Regions from separate parts of the Homo sapiens genome. Here all the other regions are linked to region 3. Evidence: promoter capture Hi-C in 16 types of primary human blood cells and fetal thymus (Javierre and others, 2016). All regions are on one chromosome and are shown on one strand. The core of a region is centred on a gene start or on the middle of the fragment in contact, and the rest is flanking DNA. Distances in the headings are between cores, read along the strand shown. Region 1 has its middle 27 kb from the start of MIR5680. Region 2 has its middle 49 kb from the start of MIR5680. Region 3 holds the start of GRHL2 (grainyhead like transcription factor 2).

Evidence for each region. The method cuts DNA at HindIII sites, captures the fragments that hold promoters and counts their contacts. A CHiCAGO score of 5 or more calls a contact.
Region 1: a contact is called between a fragment that was not itself captured here and the fragment with the promoter of GRHL2 in region 3, in 1 of 17 cell types (M1 macrophages). The highest score is 5.9, in M1 macrophages.
Region 2: a contact is called between a fragment that was not itself captured here and the fragment with the promoter of GRHL2 in region 3, in 1 of 17 cell types (total CD8 T cells). The highest score is 5.4, in total CD8 T cells.

What each region holds. Positions count from the first base shown.
Region 1 is chr8:102,149,915-102,154,536 of GRCh38, reverse strand. No RefSeq gene overlaps it. Among named protein-coding and RNA genes, the nearest start is that of MIR5680, 27 kb to the right of the region's middle. The HindIII fragment of the contact is 667 bases long and covers 3,039-3,705 here.
Region 2 is chr8:102,172,641-102,176,765 of GRCh38, reverse strand. No RefSeq gene overlaps it. Among named protein-coding and RNA genes, the nearest start is that of MIR5680, 49 kb to the right of the region's middle. The HindIII fragment of the contact is 2,310 bases long and covers 414-2,723 here.
Region 3 is chr8:101,490,167-101,494,278 of GRCh38, reverse strand. It overlaps GRHL2 (grainyhead like transcription factor 2), which reads right to left and starts at 1,840. Exons shown (of 16, transcript NM_024915.4): 1 at 1,490-1,840. The coding sequence starts at 1,509. GRHL2-DT (GRHL2 divergent transcript) reads left to right here and starts at 1,574. Exons shown (of 2, transcript NR_186782.1): 1 at 1,574-1,829. RefSeq lists an enhancer at 1,294-1,822. The HindIII fragment of the contact is 3,727 bases long and covers 1-2,916 here.

The sequences.
Region 1 (4,622 bases), core at 2,123-4,622, 660 kb before region 3:
CAACAGCTCAGGCTGCACCTGAGCCCCACAGCCAATGACTATAGTTTTTATATTCATCCACAGGCTACTATTTTTGGTGCTCTTTATTCCTTCCAGTATATCTGAATTACCATATGATGCCATTTCTTTTTATTCTAAAGAGCTTGCTTTATAGCATTTTTTGCAGTTTTCCCTTCCCTGTTTCAGACCTTGTGCCAAACAGGGCCCTGGGGATCTTCTGTGATGTAACATATTCGTTACTTGATAAGTTGAATTTTTCAAGGAATTTGTTCATTTTATCTAAGTTATTGAATTTATTGGCACAAAGTTGTTCATATTGCTCCTATACTATACTTTTGATGCCATGGTTTCTGTAGTGACATCCTCTTTGAATACTGATATTGGCAGTTTGCCTTTTCTCTATTTTTCTCTTGAGGTTTGCTAGGGGTTTATGAATTCTGCCACAAGGAGTCAATTTTTGATCTTATTAATTTTCTGTATTTCTGTTTTTTATTTCATTGATTTCTGTTGTATCTTTATTATGTTCATCTTTCCACTTATTTTAGGTTTAATTTGCTTATCTTTTTCTAACTTCTCTAGGTGTTTAGTTATTTCATTAATTTTAAACCTTTCTTCTTCTCTCATATAAACAGTTAAGGTTATTACTTTTCCTTTATTATAACTTTAGTTACAGCCCATAGATTTTTATATATTATACTTTTATATACTTTATTCTGTTCAAAATATTTTCTAATTATCCTGGTAATTTTTTATTTGATCTATGAGTTATTTATAAGTGTATTGTTTAAGTTTGAAGTATTCAGGGCTTTTCTAGCAATTAGTGACGTCTTTTCATTCTGGCTTCCCTAGCTCTGAACCCTATAACATGTGATCTTTGCAGGGCCCTGGGTAATCTTGTCTTGCAGTCCAACTATGGTAGCCTGACTTCTAAGGTGGCTCTCAATGGTCCTTCCACCTCCTGATCTACATGCCCTTACAGAAAGAATCCTTTCCCTTTGAGTATGGGCTGGACCTAACGACTTGTTTCTAATCAACAGAATACAACAAAGGTAATAGCATATTGCTTCTGTAATTAGGTTATAACATATCATCGCTTCTGTTTTGCTAGCAGACTTGTTGGCTTTGATGAGCAAGCTGCCATGTTGAAGAAGCCTATATGGCAAGGAACTGAGGGTAGCCTCAAGCCAACAGCTAACAAGGAACAAGCACTTAGTCCAACAGCCCTCAAGGAACTGAATCTTTCCAACAATAAGAAAGTGAATTTGGAAGAGAATCCTCCCCAGTTGAGCTTTCAGGTGAGACCCTAGCCCTGGAAGATTTCAGCCTTGTAGAAGTTCCTGAAGAAGAGGACTCAGGTAAGCCATGAATGGATTCCTGACCCACAAAAGCCAGGAGATAATAAATGAGTGTTATTTTAAGCTGCTACATTTTGGGTAATTTGTTGAGCAGCACTAGATAACTAAGGAGATGCAGTGAATCCTATGCGTACTTCTGGGGCCCTTCCCATGTGCAGCTGCCTCTTCTTAGGCATCCTGCCCTGGAAATCTTAATAGCTTTAGTAGCCCAGAGCTCTGATCTCTATGCATGTCTGGTTATTTTAAGGGCAAAAGTTGAGTTACAAACATCTTAATATCCTGCACAGAACCTATGTTAATACTAAGTAAATTTCTAATGAGTGTTCCTTTAGTGTTTGTTGTCTGACATATTTTCCAACTTGAACTGCCCCAATGCAGCCTTGGTCAGGGACACATCTTAAAGGGAGAATACGAAAACCTTTGCAGGTCCCCTAAGTTGGAGCCCCAGGGCTTCATGTACCTTCCCTCCACCAGCTCACATGCGACAAGTCACTCCTTCTCTTTCTAGACCTGAGTGGAATGGTGTCTTGCAGGATGTGGAATCTGGATTTTCCAGTGGCCACCAGGTGGCTGGATGACATGGCCTGGCAATGTAGGGGAGTTAGCTGCCTATGGGGTAAACCTTAACCAATAGGAAATGGGAGCCATGCAGAAACTGGGCAGATAGATTCTATTTCCTTTCTCCCTTCTATAGATTTCTCTGCAGTACAGTTCTTCTTTGAAGCCCTTTCAGAAAAGTCCCATAGTTCCAGGAAATTAACCTGCTCAATGACCTGCTACATCTCTTTGTGACTCATTGTAAAGGATTAGCCAGCACAGTAATCCAGCCTTGCTTTACATCTTTCTTTGTCTCACTCCCACTTTTCTTCTCCTTCACTTCCTCCTAGGCCTGCACCTCTCAATGAAAGCATCTATACCTTCACCCTTGCCTCAGGCTCATCTTTCCAGAGGACCTAGGCTTAGAGAGATGGCACTCATAGTTTATCTTTGCTTTCCAAGTTCATCTCAATAAACAATTTCTGCAGAGTATACTTTAGCAGAATAAATAGAACTGTACTCACCTTTGATAATTCACATAGTCAGTGTCACATATTATCATGTGTCATATTCTGCCACATTTTGGATGTCTTCTCAAAGACATCTAAGTTTCTCAAACTCTATGCTAATGGTAATGGATGTTAAAACTGACTGATTTAGGAAACAGTCAATTTGAAGGAAACAATTGAACACATAGTTTGCAGGTGGCTCCTAGATTTCATAATGGTTGGACAGAGGGAGTTAAAATACTTTTAAAAGTGGGCAATTTTCTAACTTTCCACGTGTAACTCAATTATGAATTTTACTTTTGCTTTTGCCTGCATCCCATGTCACCATCCTGCCAGGCTTCTTGCAATTTCTGCCATTGCTCTTCAGGCCCTTGAAAATATAAGGAGATTTGTTGAAAGGGCAACTCGTAAAGAATGGCAGAGACCAGTGTTAGTTGGTTTAACTCCCTTCTCTAACCAGTTCTGATTTTCAAAAGCACACTGAGTAGAAGTAAAAACTCAGAAATGTAGGGTTGCATGTACATGCCTGATCCTTTCTTTCCACTATACTGCATGCAGTCAGATGAAAGCATTCCTCCCTAAGCCTCTATCTTCATGTAAATTAGGCACAACTTATTTTCCCTTTAGCCTCAAAGCTTGATAAGTATAGTCAGACCAAAAATGCCATTAATAAAAACAGACCCTAAACATTAAGAGAAAGTGAGTTACTTCTAATGCTCTTCGTTATTTTGGAGGAGCAAATTACAGGTTCTTTCATTAGCATACTTAGAGTTTGAGAGAGGCTATCTGGGAGGGTAACGGTAACACAGTTTCTTCTCCACTCTGATTTCCTTGCATTTACTGTGTCTCCATCATGGTTTAATGGGGCTCATCGAGTCTGGAGGTTTGGCAATCATGTGATTCTATGGTGGTTGTTAAAATTGCTCTGATCCTCATAAGCATTAGACATGGGACATCAAATAGAGGCCTCTAATTTAGCTCGTAAGATAGGGTTGAGGAAAATTAAAGGAGCATCTTTCCAGAGTTTGACACCATTGAGCTAATTCTTCAAAGCTAAATGGGAGCTGGCCATGTGAATACATGAGATGAAGGAGTCCTAGAAATTAAAAAAGATGTTTTAAAATGATTTTTGCCTTTAGTGAGTAGACCATGGTGTATAATCATTCTTTGGATATTGAGCTTTTATTTTGCCTCAGAGGCACTTTCCTTGGATGATAATAGGATGTACACATAGTGGGAATAAAATATAAGACAATCTGTACTACCCAGAGCTAAATAAATATATAAGCAAGTAAAATAAAGCTTTTCTTATATTACTGTTTTCTAAATAATTTCCTACTCAACTAGCCTCCTCTCAACCTAAAAGCATGTTCAAGTCATTTCTATCCAGAGAGAGAAACCCTTATCTATCAGGTAGGGCTCTTTCAGGTCAAAGTTGAAGCTGAGACAGAAAACTCGACTCTAACTACTTGACTAAAAAAATAACTTACGAATATTGTTGAAGGTGTAGGGTTAATCTAGCTCCAAGGAAAGCTGGATAGAGTGGCTTGGATAATGTCACTAGAATCTGGTTTCTCTCCATCTCATAGATCTGACTTCCACTGTGTTGGTTTCATTCTTTGTTAGGCTTTCTTCTTATGGGGCAAGACAACCACAGAACTCAGAACTGCTTTTCAGTTCAAATGTTCCTCCTTGCAGAAAAAGAGTACCTGCTTTCCTGATAGTCCAAATGAAAATTCTAGAATTGAATCTAGATCTCTTAGATTTCAAAGAACTTGGGTCATTTCCCCATCCATGCCAATTCTTGGGTTATTTGCCAAAAAACGATTGCAAGGCAAATGCTGGTGATACCCAGCATGTCCACTTTTGGGTCATATGAAGTGCATGGGATATAAATAGAGAAGGTGCAGCATCCCCATAGCAATTCTTTTAGAATTGTTATCAGAAGCAGGGAGGTAGGTGCTGAGCAGCCAAAACAATCTATGTTGTCTGCCATATTGCTTATGTTCCTTTCTCATCATGCTAGTGCCCTGTTTATCTTACTCGTTGTATGACTTAGCAGGTTTCTTAATGCTTCTGTGCCTCAGTTTCTCCATCTATGAAATGGAGACAATAGTACTTCACAGGGTTGCTATGAGGATACAATAAAGTAATGTACATGGAGAACCAATTGTGTCCCAAACTGCTCTCCTTGATGCGTCCTTTTGCCTCCATCCACCAT
Region 2 (4,125 bases), core at 319-2,818, 680 kb before region 3:
TCTAGGATATGTAGTGACATTAAAAATGTATTTGTGAAAACAAACATTACCTCTATCAGCCTGTGGAATGTTTTATGATTGAGCTTCCTTTGTAGCTCCCTAGTTCCTTCTATAGATTGGCTCATGATGATGAAGATGAAGATGAAGTTGCTGATGACTGATTGATTGATGACAGCTATGCTTTATTAAGGACTTACCATGTGCCACGAATATTATCTCATTTAATCTCCACCACAGCCATAATAATAAGGGCTGTTATTCTCATTTTACAGGTGAGAAAATCAATGCTCAGAGAGATTAATTTGTTCAAGGTCACATGGTTGGTGAGTGGCAGAAATAGGATTCAGACTCAGTATGCTCGACTTGGAAGACCACTTACTTTGCTAGACTAAGTCATGCCAGCTCCACAAGCTTGGATTAGTGTTTGAGGGCTGAATCTTATGTCTTCATTCTGGTGGATACAGCCAAGACAGGATCACTGGCAAAGATCTTTTAATTCTTCTCTGCCTTGCCAAGATCACCTTTTAGGCATTTCTCTGATATCTGATGATACAGAAGTATCTTTATTAGGCTGTCAAAGCTCTGTAATTTCACTAAAATGCTTATTTATTAAAGATAAAGATTATTTATTGAAGATACTTGTTTTTATCCCAAGTATATTTGTATTATTAGAAACTGCAAGTGGCATTCCATGACTCAAATATTCCTTTTACTTGAAAAGATGATAAATCTAGCTGTTTATCCTAGAACTTCACACCTTTCAACAATGAGAAATATGGTCACTTTTGCATGGAGTTAATGGGTTGTGCAGAATGTACTTACCCCAAGAACGTGGTGATTCTCTCTGAAGCAAAGGCGTGCCATGGGAACTGTCCATGGTGGTTCCTGGCAGAACTAACAAGTTGTATTAGGAACTTCCAGTGCTGGACAAGGTATTTAATTTCTAGGTAGGTCTCCCCTTCCCCTCAATTCTCAATTTCAATCTCTCTCTCTCTCTGGACAAGGTATTGAATTTCTAGGTAGGTCTGCCCTCCTCCTCAATTCTCAATCTCTCTCTCTCTCTCTCTCTCTCTCTCTCTCTCACACACACACACACACACACACACACACACACACACTCTTCTTCCATCCTTTCAGTCATGTATTTGTGAATAAGAGCTATTAGGAAAAAGTATAGGTATCTAGCTCACTTATACCCTTATAATTTAGATTTTGAGATTCTAATTTTCTGATGACTGTAAATTGCTATATGTTTATCCATGATAAAACAATGAAAGAATACCCTTTTATAAGAAAGATCACAGAATATCTACCACACATAAAAATATTTGATGTCTTTAGATTGAATGCCTTGTATTGTTAATCTTTAAATCCAGCCACATAGGCAAAAAGTACTGTAGTTACAGGCCTACTTTAGTTGAATTTCTGAGTATAAGGACCACTTTTTAAGGAGTAAAATAACAACCCACTGTGGTCAACTATATTATGGTTCACCCATGATTTTGGTGCTTCTCTCTACGGTGTCTCTATCTATGGGAAGATTATGCATTCCTACCCTGTTGAACCCAGAAGTGGCCATGTGACTTGCTTTGACCAATCAAGTATGGGAAACATTCCAGATGTGTTTATTCTAAACAAAACAAAACAAATGTGGGCCACTTCTGAGCAGAAGGTGTTAACAGCCAGCATATATGGTTCACAATGCCATAATGACTGGTAACGTTTCTGATTGAGGTGGCTCCATTAGCCTGAGTCCCAAAGTGAAAATTAATCAAATCAGAGCAGCAGCTAACTCTCAGTGGATGATACGGTTTGAATATATGTCCCTGCCAAACCCCATGTTGAACTTAAATCCCCAATGTTGGTGGTGGGGCTTGGTGGGAGATGTTTGGATCATGGGGGCGCTCATGGCTTGGTGCCTTGTGATAGTGAGTGAGTTCTTAGGAGATCTTGATTTTTAGAAATGTGTGGGACTGCCATCACCCCTTGTTCCTGCTCTGCCATGTGAGACAGTATCTGCTCTTGTTTTGCCTTCCACCATGAGTAAAAGCTCCCTGAGGCCTCCCCAGAAGCCAAGCAGATGGTGGGACCATGCTTGTACAGCCTGTAGAACCATGAGCCAATTAAACTTCTTTTCTTTATAAATTACCCAGTCTTGAGTACTTCTTTACAGCAATGTGAGAACAGCCTAACACAGAAATTAGTACTGAGGAGTAGGGCATTGCTATAAAGATAAGGAAGCACCCTTGGAACTGGGCAATGGGCAGAAGTTGGAAGAGTTGGGAGGGCTCAGAAGAAGAGAGAAATATGAGGGAAAGTTTGGAACTTCTTAGATACTGGTTAAATGGTTGTAACCAAAATGTTGATAGTAATATGAATAGTGAAGGCCAGACTGAAGAGGTCTCAGATGGAAATGAGAAACATATTGGGAACTGTAGCAAAGGTCACCTTTATTATGCCTTAGCAAGGAACTTGGATGTGTTGTGTCCATGCCCTAGGAAGTCTGCGGAGGTCTGAACTAAATAGTAATGATTTAGGGAATCTGGTGGAAGAAATTGCTAAGCAGCAATGTGTTCAAGAGGTGACCTGCTGCTTTTAATAACCCACACTCAGAGGCAGGATCAAATAAATGACTTAAAGTTGGAATTTATATTTAAAAGGAAAGTAGAGATAAAAGTTTGGAGAATTTGCAGCCTGGCCACGTGCCAGACAGAGAAAAAGCTTTTTGGATAGAGGAATTCAAGCAGGCTGTAGAGCAACCACTTACGAGATATATTTGCATGACTGAAAAAGAGCCAGGTGCTGATAGCCAAGACAACAGGAAAAAAATCCTCAAAGGCATTTCAGAGACCTTCCAGGTAGCCCCTCCCATCACAGGTACAGAGGCCTAGGAGGGAAGAATGGTTTCATGGGCCAGCCCCAGGGCCCCGCTGCCCTGGGCAGCTGTGGGACACTGCTTCCTGCATCCTGGCTGCTCTGGCTCCAGCCATGGCTCAAAGGGCCCCAGGTACAACATGGGCTGCTACCCTAGAGGGCACAAGCTGTAAGCCTTGGTGGCTTCCATATGGTGTGAAGCCTGTAGGCACACAGAGTGCAAGAATGAAGGAGGCTTGGCATCCTCTGTCTGTATTTCAGAGGATGTATGAGAAAGCCTAGGTGCCTGGTACAGAGGCAGAGCCCTCACAGAGAACCTCTGCTAGGGCAGTGTGGAGGGGAAATGTGGGGTTGTAGGGTCCACACGAAGTGCCCACTGGGGCACTGCCTAGTGGAGCTATGGGAAGGGGCCCGCTGTCCTCCAGATCCCAGAAAGTAGATCCACCTGCAGCTTGCACTCTGCACCTGGAAAAGCTGCAGGCACTCAACAACCTTTGAGAGAAGCCATGGGGGAATGTACCCTACAAAGCTGAAGGGGCAGAGCTGCCCAAAGATTCCTTGAAGCAGTGTGTCCTGGATCTGGGACATAGAGTCAAAAGAAATTACTTTGGAGCTTTAGGATTTAATGACTGCCCTACTGAATTTTGAACTTGCATGGGGCCTGTAGCCTCTTTGTTTCGGCTGATTTCTCTCTTTTGGAACAGGAATGCTTACCCAATGCCTGTACTCCCATTGTATCTTGGAAGTAACTAACTTATTTTGATTTTACATGCTCATAGGTGAAAGGGGCTCATTTCCAGATGAGACTGTGAACTTGGGTCTTTTGATTGAGTTGATGCTGAAATGAATTAAGACTCTAGGGGACTGTTGGTAAGGCATGATTATATTTTGCAATGTGAGGAGCACAGGAGATTTGGAGGGTCAGGGGAGGAATGATATGGTTTGAATATATGTCCTCACCAAATCTCATGTTGAACTGTAATCCTTAGTGTTGGAGGTGGGGCCTGGTGGGAGGTGTTTGGGTAATGGAGGTGGATCCCTCATGGCTTTATGCTGTCCTTGTAATGATGCTTGAGTTCTCAGGAGATCTAGTTTTGTAGAAATATGTGACACCTCCCTGCCTGACTGTCTCTTGCTCTTGCTCTGCCATAAGATGCCCACTCCCGCTTCTGCTTCTACCATGAGTAAAATCTCCCTGAGGCCTCCCCAGAAGCTTAGCAGATGCCAGTGCCATGTTTGTACAGCCTGCAG
Region 3 (4,112 bases), core at 591-3,090:
GCTAGTCCTTCCCCTCCACCCCTGAACAGGTCCGCAGGGCCTTCCCACTCCTCCCTCGTGGTCCCTCAACTTGGGACGGGTCCCCGCCACTTCTCCATGACAGGCCCAGCGGCCCGCGGCCTTGGGGCACCGGCCCTCTCCGGCGAGACACCTTCAGGAAGGTCCCCTCGGGGTGGCCGCAACGCCACGGCAAAGTTACCGGGGAAAGCAAAAGGGCGGCCCCGCGCACTTCCAATAGGACGCAGCCAGTTCCCAGGCCCGGACGCGCCCGAGAGGAGGGGGAAGGGAGTGTCCCCGCCGAATCCCGAGAAAGGCCGCGGGACCCACCTCCGGCTCCCTCCCGCGCCCGCCCAGGCCCCACCTCCCCCGGCTCGCACAAAGCCTTCCGAGGGCGGGGGCCGGCCAGGGGGGAGGCCGTCAGGACGCGGCCGGACCGGGCCCAGTGACCCGCGGGCGGCTCCGGCCGCGCAGGCTGTGGCTCCCCGACGCGTCTGGAGTGCCTGTCCGGGACGGGAAGGACGCGAGCCCAGCGTTCCCGCCGCCCCGAGCCCTCGGCCTTGACGGCGAGAGCACCCCGAGAAGGCTCGGCGCGCCCCACGCAGTCCCGCCTGCCGCGTCCGAGGTGGCGGCCAACTGCGTGGAGGGCCGCGAGCTCGAGGGGCGTGCAGACGCCGTCGGGGGCGCGGGTGAATCGCTCAGTGGCAGGCGCCCCTTCGCGCCCCGCCGAGGCCCTAACTCGAGGCCTCACATGAGTTCCCCCAGTTCGCGAACCGTCCTTTCCCCCCGGGCACCTGAGGAAGGTGGCCAAACAATGCGGGGGCGGACCCGGGGGAGGGAGGCGGGGGAGGGGGGAGGAAGGCGGGATGTCGAGGGAGTGGGGGACGGCGCCGGCCGCCCCCGCGCCCCCCGGCCTCCCAGCGCCTCGCCTCCCATCGGGGCCACACGCGGGCGCGCACTCACGCCCACCCTCCTGCCCGGTGCGAGAAGATGGCCGTTTCTGCCTCATATAAAAGCTCTTTGTTGCGGTCACACAAAAGCGGCCAAGCCCCACTTTTCCAGTAGGCCCTTTGGACAAATCGAAGGAACTCAGCTGAACTTCCAAATGGCCCTAAACGCCAGATCGGTGGGAGCAGCTAAAACAGAGAGGGAAGAGCAGGCCTCCCGCGCCCATCTACCAAAACCTCTGGCAATATCCAAGTATTCATCCAGGAGCGGGAGCTGAGACCATTCCTAAGGGAAGAAGGAAAAGGAAAACCCACTTTTACTATCAAGGCCCAAAGGGGATATTAAATATTCACATTGTTGTAGGGTTTCTCCCCTTAATCAGGGTAGAAACATAATGCGGAAAAGTCTGGATCCACCAAAAAGAAAAAGAAAAAAGAAAGAAAAATACCAACAATAGCAACTTAAAAACAAAAACATAACAAACCAGTTGCCATCAGCCCAAAGTGGTAGTAGTAGCAGCAGCCGGCGCGTGTGATCCACTTACTTGTCCGACTCTTGTGACATGTTTGATCCAATGAACTTGCTCCGCTTTTCCTGGAGCCTCAGCCTCTGGTGAAACTGGACTTTCAAGTCTGTGCAGGTGAAGGTGTGTGAGAGCGCCCGAGATGGCAGAACAAGAGCTACAGGTAATTCTGCTTTTCCGTCCCCCCTCACCACTCTCGCTCGCTCGCCCGCTCGCGCCCTCACCTAGCCGGAAAGGTGGGATAAGGGGGGGCCCCTCACATGGGGCCCGAGCTCGGAGGCGGCCGGGCGGCGCGGAGTCCTCCTGGATCGTGGCAATGGGCAGACACAGAGCAGAAAGTGGCGGACTTGGGCGGCCACAGGTAACTTTCTCGCAAGGAGCTGAATTCTTTCACTAAAGGGTACAAGCCCGAGGGACGAGCTGCGCGATGATTGGCTGGGGAGCTCCCTCAGGTGAGCTGCCATTGGCAGAGGCGCGCTCAGGTAAGGCCCTTCTCCGAGTGCAGGTAACTCACTCCGAAGTTTACCCGAGTGGAGCGGCGGCATGCTTGCAGCTCGGCGGCAGCCTGTGAGAGCTGAGGGTCAGTTCTTCGAGTAGATCTCAAGCTGCGTTTTCCTCCTTCTCCAAAGCAGGGATGGGAAGGTGGAGGCTACTGGTTGAAGAGAAGAAAGGGGTTGGGGGAATGCAACACCTGCAAACACTAGGGATTGTGGGTCGAGCGGAAGAGCTAATGAGAGCCGAGCTCAGGTATCCCAAGTCAACCAGAATCAAATGCGCAGTACGCCACAAGGCATTTAATGCCCACAGTAACAGGGCTGTTTGACAGTGGCAGAAGAGGACGGGACTAAAGTTACTTTGTGCTGAGAGGGGGAAAGAAGCACAAAGTTTGGTCTGTTGCGTAATTGAATTTTTAACACTCTTATCCACAACAAACACTTTTTCGTGTCCTGCTGTGTAAAAGACATCAGATATATTACAGATTTTCAAACAGGTGAGCATCCTTTTACGAGCTGGGCAGGTGGGGAGTGGCGTGGTTTTGATGGAGTGAGGAGATTTGGTTGAATGAACGCTAAGATGGCCAGACGCACCTCTTCGATCTCAACTCTGCAGCCTGGGATTCCAGAGCTGCAAACAACCACTGAATTCGTTCTGTAAACCTGTTGTCATTTGACGTTTCCAGGCAGGCATCAACATTTACATTGTAATTCAATAGACGCTACTACTACAAAGGAGCTTTATTCTTCCAGCTTAATATGGTTGCTGCGGGAACACTGCAGGATGAAACTGACTTTTTTTGTGGTAATGTTTCTCCTGGTTGGGAACAACGCAAATTAGCAAAGGCGTAATTTATAACCGCTGCTACCAAAGAGTGAAGTATTTGTGGAAGTTCTGACTGGAATCTAGCTCGTACATATGGATTGTGGAAATAAAGGAGGACGTGGAAAGCTTGCCATATTTTATTTCAAGTTAATACTAAAGCTGCCAGACTTAATACAACTTTCTTTTAATCTTTATGGATCACATATTTTCTGAAAATTACATGATAAAACAAGGTTTGGTTTGTTCCATGTGTCCATTTTCAACAATAAATTTCAAAATTGTATTTTTAAAAAACAATATAAACACACACTTTAAAGAAATAATATATTTTAAGACAATGCAGGTACTATTTTAATATAATATTTTAAGATAATGCAATACCTATCATGTTCCTCTCCTTTTTAGAGGCAGCCATATTCTGCTTTTATCTGTCTCTTCTGTCATTTACCTCCCTATTTCTAAATAATTTGTACTGCCATCTCTTGATTTGCCAATAGATGTTGTGCTCTGACTACCTGTTGCTTCAGATTAGGATTTAGCTCTTTCATGCCAAGCAACTTCTCCTTCCAACACAGCACTTTCACAGTTTAGGAGCTAAGTAAGTGACTATGCCAATAGCAATGACAACACAGCCAATAGTGTACTATTCTTGTTTTCTTCCTTATAAAACCTTGTATCTATTTACTTAGTTTGTTATGCCCCATCCTGATATTTTTCTACAACTGATCTATCAAATGACTATCATGTTTATTTTCCAAATGATCAAACAATCAATTCCAATTTTGCCCTGAAAACAATTCCTCCAGAAATTCATTGTTCTACTGTTTCAGTGGAGATGAGTTGCTCTATGGATCCGCTTCTCAAGTGTCATCCTGGGACACTCTTTTTTTTTTTTTTTTTTTTTTTTTGACAGAGTCTCTCTCTGTTGCCCAGGCTAGTGTGCAACGGTGTGATCTCAGCTCACTACAACCTCTGCCTCCCGGGTTCAAGTGATTCTCCTGCCTCAGCCTCCCAAGTAGCTGGGATTACAGGCATGCACCACCAAGTCCAGCTAATTTTGTATTTTTAGTAGAGACGGGGTTTCTCCATGTTGGTCAGGCTGGTCTAGAACTCCCAACCTCAGGTGATCCACCTGCCTCAGCCTCCCAAAGTGCTGGGATTACAGGTGTGAGCCACCGTGCCCGGCCTGGGACACTCCTTAATCTGTAGTGTGAGAACCCCCATTTCTGTGTTTTGTGCCTTCTTTCTTGGTTTACTGCTTCATTTTCCATGGCACATGTTTTAGTAACAGCCCAAGAAAGGGTACAGAAGGTAAAAATTTGAG